Regions from separate parts of the Homo sapiens genome. Here region 2 is linked to region 1. Evidence: promoter capture Hi-C in human tissues and cell types (Jung and others, 2019). All regions are on one chromosome and are shown on one strand. The core of a region is centred on a gene start or on the middle of the fragment in contact, and the rest is flanking DNA. Distances in the headings are between cores, read along the strand shown. Region 1 holds the start of CCDC8 (coiled-coil domain containing 8 subunit of 3M complex). Region 2 has its middle 48 kb from the start of PNMA8B.

Region 1 (4,157 bases), core at 1,523-4,022:
TGACGCAACCCCATTGTGTCGAATTCTTTCTTTACATTTTTTGGGTTGCTACAAGGAATCAGTATTTTTTTTTTTTAATCAGATGGTGTGTGTGGTGGCTCACATCTGTAATCCCAGCATTTTGGGAGGCCGAGGCAGGAGGATCACTTGAGGCCAGAAGTTTGAGGCTGCAGTGAGTTATGATCATGCCACTGCACTCCAGCCTGGGCAACAGAGTGAGACCCTGTCTCTAAAAAATTTAAAAAAAAATCAAAGCATGAACAAAACTTTAACAAGAGAATAAAGAGGGTTGTTAGGTGGAGACGTGGCCAGCACTCCACCTCCACTTTGAAGTTCAGAGGCAGAGCATCTCTCCCTCCCACACTTGGAGGGAGGGCCCGTGGGCTGTCTCTAGCCCTCACCTCACAGCTGGTCTTCTTGCTCTCCCTGCTCAGCTTCTGCTCTGGCCTCGGCCCTCAGCACCCTGAGGTTCCTGGCCTCTCCTGCCCTGGGGACTCTCTTGGGCAGGGTTGGCAACCGGGGAGTGTGCCAGAAGGCTCTCCGGCGCTTGCAAAACCACGAAAAGCGTCCAGGGGTCTGGAACCTCACTGTCTTGACCTGTTTCCGGGCCCTGGCTCCTGGAGCTGTTCCTGTGGTCCCTTGGGCAGCTGAGACTTCAGCTTCCTGGATACCTGGGGCCCCTGCCCTCTGATTATGTGCAGCCTCTGCCCTCTGGCCAGCCCGGGCCTGTGCCCTCTGATTATCTGCACCCTGGACAGCTGGGGCCCTTTCCCTCTGGTCATGTACGGCCTCTTCCCTTTGATTATCTGTAACCTCTGACCCCTGGTCAGCTGGGGCCTCCGCCCTCTGATTATCTGCAGCCTCTTCCCTGTGGTTATCTGTGCCCTGTGACCTCTGGTCAGCTGGGGCCTCTGCCCTCTGATTATCTGCAGCCTCTTCCCTCTGGTTATCTGCAGCCTCTGCCCCCTCCTCAGCTGGGGCCCCTGCCCTCTGATTATCTGCAGCCTCTTCCCTCTGATTATCTGCAGCCTCTGCCCCCTGGTCAGCTGGGGCCCCTGCCCTCTGATTACCTGCAGCCCCTTCCCGCTGGTCAGCTATGGCCTCTTCCCTTTGACTATCTGCAGCCTCTCCCCCCTGATCAGCCTCGATGTCTGCCCCCTGACCTGTGGGTGCTGTCTGCTCCTTCCTGCGGCGCCGAAAGGAGGCCCAGTTGATCTTGGGCCTCCATCGCCTAGGGGAAGCCTGGGGCACACAAACATCTCCCGCGTTTCCCAAGCGATCCCCCGGGCTGGTGCCCTCTGGCGCCGATGATACCCCTGCGCTCTCCACTGCGGTGGAGGCCAGCCGGGCCTCGCCCACCCCGGGGCCCGCCCTCGGCGCCCAACCCTTCACCCTCCGCTTCAGCTTCCCCCAGGACACCTGGCTGACATACTCCCGCCACCTGTCCGCTTTGGACAGCTGAGGCCCCAGGTTGTCCTCAAACATGGGCACTGGCAGGTTGACGCGGCGGCGGGCAGGCGGCGCGCTGGGCTGCTTCTCCTGTCGCCGGAGGAAGGCCTCGACCAGTTCCTCATCATCCTCACTCTCCAGGTCGCTTCCCAGGAACTTGCTGCCCAGGTAGCTGACGGGCATTTTGCGCACCTTCTTGCCCCGCCGCGGGCCCTGGCGGCTCTTGTCTCTGGAGGTCTCGAAGTCGCTGAACTCGCTGTCGCTGGCGTTGCTGCTGTCGTACGTGCCCACGACCAGCCGGGGCGGAGGAGTCACCATCTGCTGCACTCTCCTCCTCACTCGGGGCTCCTTGGGCTTTTTGGGGGGCTGGGGCGGGTGCGGGGTGCTCTTCTCCATGATGCGGGCCACGTCCTCCAGGGTGCGGCCCTCTTCTTCCAGGAACTGGGTCAGCCGCTCCCGAAATTCTGCTTCCTTGGTGGCGGGCTTAGAGATGACTCTCCAGACGCCCCCAGCCAGCCTGACCTCCCGGGGGATGAGCAAATAGTCGACGTCCTCCCCGATCTGCAGCATCCCCACCGTGGAGTCCTCCTCCTTGCGGAACACCTTGCCGATCTTCTTAAATGTCCCCACGGGCTTTAGGGCTTCCACGAGGACGTCCAAATCCACATCTTTGCAGACATCGGGGACGCTCCAAAGAATGAGGCAGTCGGGGGACGGCAGGAAGCCCCAGGGGAACCAGCCCCCCACGTGGCTTTTCTCGAGAGTCTTTAAGATCTCCAGGGTGATATCTGGGGTGAGGGGGCAATGAGCCCCAACAAACTACTGTAGCCCTTAGTCTTGAGGGAGGGACTGGATGGGGGGAGTTCCAGCAACGCTGACCGGAGAGTCTCACCTCCCTAGCCAGGGACGAGCCAAACGCCTCCAATCTCTTCGCCTGCAACAAGTACAGTCTTGACCAAGTCCGGCTCCCCCACCAAGGACTTGGGGGAATCAATTTCCAGGATGCCTACGTGAGCCGGGGGCGAGGTCAGTCCCAAGGCTCAAGGCCCACTCCAAGCTGGAAACGTGGTGTCCCAGCTCCAAGTTGGGGCGCGCGGGCTGCCAGCGACTCTTCCTGCCCCAGGCCCCAGGGACGCGGCTGGAACTTGGGACAGGACTTCGCAGACAAAGACGGTCCAGTCGAAGCTATTCAATATGGCCGAGGCGCTGGGAGGCCCCAGCCCGGGCCTCCAGTAGGGTCCCCCGCCCCCAGGCAGGCCGCCACCCAGCTCCAGGCTGACCTTGACGCGCCGCAGCCTGCCAGCCCGCGCGCTTAGAGCTCTGCACCGTGGAGCGCGCGGGCAGGAAGTTCCTCCTCGCCCTCCGCCAGAATGAGGCCCACCTTCCCCCGTCTCATCTTACACTCCCAGACTCTGGAAGACTGACAGGGGGGCTGTCCACTCCCTTCGGGGCGGCCTCCTTCCCCTCCCCCACAGGGGTGTGGCCGCGCCCCGGGCCTAGCTGGGCCCATTGCTTCCCAGCGAAGCGGCAGTGGCCCACGTCAGCACCTTTCCTGAAAGGCAGCGGTTCCCAAACCTGCCATCCGAAATGTGCAAGTTTCCAGCCAAGTCCGGGAGGTGGGTGTGCTAGTGGATTCTACTTTTTGAGAGCCACTGGCACCACAGATTAGCATTTTAAATTCACGCGACTATCGGTACCCGTACACCTATATGCGTGGGTAGAGAAATGGGTACCTGACTGCAACAGTCCCACTGTGGCGCTTGGCAGGTCAGGGCTCAATACATATTTTTGAGGGGATGAATAAACCCAAATGTTCATGGCCAGGCGCGGTGGCTCATGCCTGTAATGCCAGCACTTTGGGAGGCCCAGGTGGGTGGAACACTTGAGGCCAGGAGTTCGAGACCAGCCTGCCCAACATGGTGAAACCCTCGTCTCTACCCCGGGTGTGGTGGTGCGCGTGCGTAGTCCCAAGCTACGCGAGAGGCTGAGGCAGGAGAATGGCGTGAACCTGGGAGGTGGAGGTTGCAGAGATCGCGCCACTGCACTCCGGCCTGCGCAACAGAGGGAGACTGTCTCAAAAAAACAAAAGTGCAAAAAAACCCCTACAAATAAACAACAACAAAAAACCCTAAAAGTTCACGAGTAGAGACTGCCTCTATTTTATGGTAGTATCTTACAGTGAAATATTTTGCAACTTCGAAAAAAGAATGAGATGGCTAAGGATAGGCACGGTTTATGAGGCGCTTCCTATGTAGTAGGCACCATTCCCAGTGCTTTCTATGAATGAACTCAGGAAATCCTTGCTATAACAGGAGACTGGTAGCATGAGTACAATTCCCATTAGACAGCTGAGGAAACTGAGGCCCAAGGACATAAAACCACACTCTCAAGGTCACAGCCATGGGGAGTGGTTGAGTTTGGATTTGAATCCAGAATAGTCTGCCTTTTGTGTCGACCAAAGAGTCAAGATGGCCAGGCGCGGTGGCTCACGCCTGTAATCCCAGCCCTTTGGGAGGCTGAGGCGGGCAGATCACGAGGTCAGGAGATCAAGACAAGACCATCCTGGCTAACGCGGTGAAACCCTGTCTCTACTAAAAATGCAAAAAAATTAGCCGCGCGTGGTGGTACGTGCCTGTAGTCCCAGCTACTCGGGAGGCTGAGGCAGAAGAATCTCTTGAACCCGGGAGGCGGAGGTTGCAGTGAGCCGC
Region 2 (3,922 bases), core at 442-2,941, 130 kb after region 1:
AAAAAAAAAAAAAAAAAAATCAATTTTAATAGAGTGGCACATTGAGAACATACCCTAAACATTCATTCTGTTCTCCCGTGCAGCCAGGAGCTCCAGTTAATTTTCCTGTTACCAGCCTCATTTGTTAACTCTGTTCATTTGTGTCTTTCCTTGAAAGGATAATTTGAACAAAAGAGTCTAAGATTTTTTTAGAAATTGTTGCAATATCTGAAAAAAAAAAAAAAGAACCTCCCAAAGAAACCTGCATTCTGATTGGTTGTCTTCCTTGATTATTTGTTGCTATGGTGACCAGGAGGTTAAATAGCATCTCTGTATTTCCTAAAGAATAAATACTGGTTGGTTTTCTCTGGCAAATCAGAAAAGGATCATTTCTCTCCTTCCATGATCATGATGCAATAAAAGCCTAGGGCTCTTCTAGATTTATATTTTATCAAAGAAAGTGAGAGTCTTGTCTTATCCAAATTAACAGAAGCACTTAGTCCAGTGTCCAGTCGCTTGAGTGGCGGTGGCCACTCTCGGAAGGGCAATTACAAACTGTACTAATAGTAAGTCCAGCGCGCCATCTGGTGGCCAATTAGAGAATAGCATGACCGTATCTACTTAAACTAAAAGGCGACTCACCTCCCTTCTTGTCTGTTAAGGCTGCCCTAGCAAATTAATACAATAAGCTTGTTCCTGTTGGTCTTAGTCTGATTGAGAAAGAACCCTTGACTGCTTTGACCCATAGAATATGACAGATGTGACACTGTGCTGGGCATGGCGGCTCACGCCTGTAATTCCAACACCGAGAAGCAGAGGTGGGCGGATCGCTTGATCCCAAGACTGCAAGACCAACCTGGGCAACACAGAAAGACCCCAACTCTACTAAAAATAACTTTTTTGTTTTGTTGTGAGACGGAGTTTCGCTCTTGTCGCCCAGGCTGGAGTGCAATGGCGTGATCTCGGCTCACCACAGACTCCGCCTCCTGGGTTCAAGCGATTCTCCTGCCTCAGCCTCCCGAGTAGCTGGAATGACAGGGGTCCGCCACCGCACGTGGCTAATTTTGTATTTTTAGTAGAGACAGGGTATATCCATGTTGGTCAGGCTGGTCTTGAACTCCCGACTTCCACCCACCTCCGCCTCCCAAACTGTTGGGATTACAGGCGTGAGCCACCACTCCCGGCCAAAAATATAACTTTTAAAAATAGGCTGGCGTGGTGGCCCGCACCTGTAGTCCCAGCTACTCGGGAGGCTGAGGCAAGAGGATCCCTTGAGCCTAGGAGGTAGAGGCTGCGGTGAGCTATGATGGCGCCGCTGCACTCCAGCCTGGGTGACAGAACGAGACCCTGTCTAAACAAACAAACAAACAAACAAACAAGTGACACCGCCAGGCCTGGATCTACATTTTAAGGGAACCAGCAGATTCCGTCGTGATCTCTTTGGCTCCCAGGCTACTGTGTAAGAATTGCAACTCCCCAGCCGGGCGCGGTGGCTCACGCCTGTAATCCCAGCACTTTGGGAGGCCAAGGCGGCGGATCACGAGGTCAGGAGATCGTGACCATCCTGGCTAACACGGTGAAACCCCGTCTCTACTAAAAATACAAAAATTAGCCGGGCGTGGTGGCAGGCGCCTGCAGTCCCAGCTACTCGGGAGACTGAGGCAAGAGAATGGTGTGAACCCAGGAGGTGGAGCTTTCAGTGAGCCCAGATCGCGGCCACTGCACTCCAGCCTAGGCGACAGAGCGAAACTCCGTCTCAAATAAATAAATAAATAAATAATAAAAAAAGAATTGCAGCTCCCCTAAGAGCATGGAGCTGTGAGAAGGCCCAGGAGAATTGAAGCTTCCAGACATGGGAGTGAAGAAGCCATCTTGGAGGTGGGTCCTCCAGCCCTCATCACATGATGCCACGTGGAACAGAAATGAACATCCAGTCAAACCCTTTTCACATTCCTGACCCACAAAATCCTGAACAAGCTTGGGAATTAAGCTATTACTGTGCCATTTTTTGTTGTTGTTGTTTTTGTTTTTTCTTTTTGTTTTGTTTTGGGTTTTTTTTTTTTTTTTTTTTTTTGGTTTTCTGGGTTTTATTTGAGATAGAGTTCTGCTCTTGTTGCCCAGGCTGGAGTGCAATGGCACTATCTCGGCTCACTGCAACCTCCGCCTCCTGGGTTCAAGTGATTCTCCTGCCTCAGCCTCCTGAATAGCTGAGATTACAGGTGCCCACCACCACGCCCGGCTAATTTTTGTATTTTTAGTAGAGACAGTGTTTCGCCACGTTGGCCAGGCTGGTCTCAAACTCCTGACCTCAAGTGATCCGCCCACCTCGGCCTCCCAAAATGCTGGGATTACAGGCGTGAGCCACCGCCTGCGGCCATTGTGCCACTTTTATAGAGGAGGAGATTGAGGTTCAGAGGCCCAGTTGATGGTCCAAGATCACACACTGGGAAGTACTGGAACCAGGGTTATGAAATCCTGTCTGCTTGGCTGCAAAGCCTCTACTCTTCCACACTGCATTATTTAGGAAGACAGACAGGCTTTGGGCACGAGCGTGGGCCTCACTGAGGGGAGAGGGGCCTTCTGGCCTCAGTAATATCCCTGTTCCCTTCTCTGACTGTCACTTCCCCCTTAGAGACAGAGTTTCTGCAGAGTGGAGTCTCTTCTCACGCCTGGGAGAGTTTGTGCAGGAGACATGAGAGCTGAAGATCTGGCACCACCTTTGCCTTAAAGACAAAAGGTGACATTTGGGAAAAGCATGCCACTCTTCGAGTGGTACTTAAGGATCCATGGGCTGAATCTGCCTTTTTTTCCCCAACTGATTTGGCAAGGACCTTCAAATAAATCCAGTGGAGCTTCTTGGGGCAGCATGGCCCACTCTCAAGAGTTTAGCCTTTGAGTCATGTGTGGTGGCTCGTGCCTATAATCCCAGCACTTTGGGAGGCCGAGGCAGGCTCACTTGAGGTCAGGAGTTCAAGACCAACCTAGCCAACATGGTGAAACCCCATCTCTGCTAAAAATACAAAAATCAGCTGGGCATGGTGGCAGGCACCTGTAATCCCAGCTACTCAGGAGGCTGAGGGAGGAGAATCGCTTGAACCCAGGAGGCAGAGGTGGCAGTGAACTGAGATCGCACTACTGTACTCCAGCCTGGGCAACAGAGCAAGACTCTGTCTCAAAAAAAAAAAAAAAAAAAAGAGAGAGAGAGAGAGAATTTAGCCTTTGGACTCGCACAGATCTAGGTTCAAACTCCAGCTTTGCTACTGCAGCCTCAGCGCACTTATCTGTAGAATGGGATTTCAAAATGATGTCTGCTTCTCAAAGTTGCTTTGAGAATTTGCTGATATTTTGTCTTTAAAATACTTCATTGTGTGCTGCCTTACACAAAGATCAGAATCTCTGAAAGGACAGGACAGGAACTTTTTACTCACTCACTGCTTCACTCACTGCTGTATGCCCAGTGCTTTCAAAAGCACCTGGGGCTGGGCGCGGTGGCTCATGCCTATAATCCCAGCAGTTTGGGAGGCAGAAGAGAGCAGATAACCTGAGATCAGGAGTTCAAGACCAGCCTGGCCAACATGGCAAAACCCCGTCTCTACTAAAAATCCAAAAAAAAAAAAAATTAGCCAGGCATGGTGGCGCATGCCTGTAATCCCAGCTACTCAGGAGGCTAAGGCATGAGAATTGCTTGAACCCGGGAAGCGGAGGTTGCAATGATCCGAAATCAAGCCACTGCACTCCAGCCTAGGCTCCATCTCATAAAAAAAAAATAATTAAAAACAGTAAAAATAAATAAAAAGCACTCAGCGTGGGATTTTCAATAAATAGTTACTGAATGAGTAAATCAAAAGCAGTCAATGTTACATATGATGATCAGGGCATTTTCAGTTGCAAGCAACAGAAATCTAAGTCAAACTGGCTAAAGGAGAAACAAAAATTCACTGGC

What was found. Contacts are between HindIII fragments. The study calls those that stand out against the background at their distance.
Region 2: a contact is called between a fragment that was not itself captured here and the fragment with the promoter of CCDC8 in region 1, in 1 of the 25 tissues and cell types used here (dorsolateral prefrontal cortex).

What each region holds. Positions count from the first base shown.
Region 1 is chr19:46,410,792-46,414,948 of GRCh38, forward strand. It overlaps CCDC8 (coiled-coil domain containing 8 subunit of 3M complex), which reads right to left and starts at 2,773. Exons shown (of 1, transcript NM_032040.5): 1 at 1-2,773. The coding sequence starts at 2,019. The coding sequence ends at 403. RefSeq lists enhancers at 1,147-1,980, 3,647-4,157. The HindIII fragment of the contact is 10,715 bases long and covers 1-4,157 here.
Region 2 is chr19:46,542,303-46,546,224 of GRCh38, forward strand. It overlaps the pseudogene PPP5D1P. Among named protein-coding and RNA genes, the nearest start is that of PNMA8B, 48 kb to the left of the region's middle. The HindIII fragment of the contact is 3,360 bases long and covers 12-3,371 here.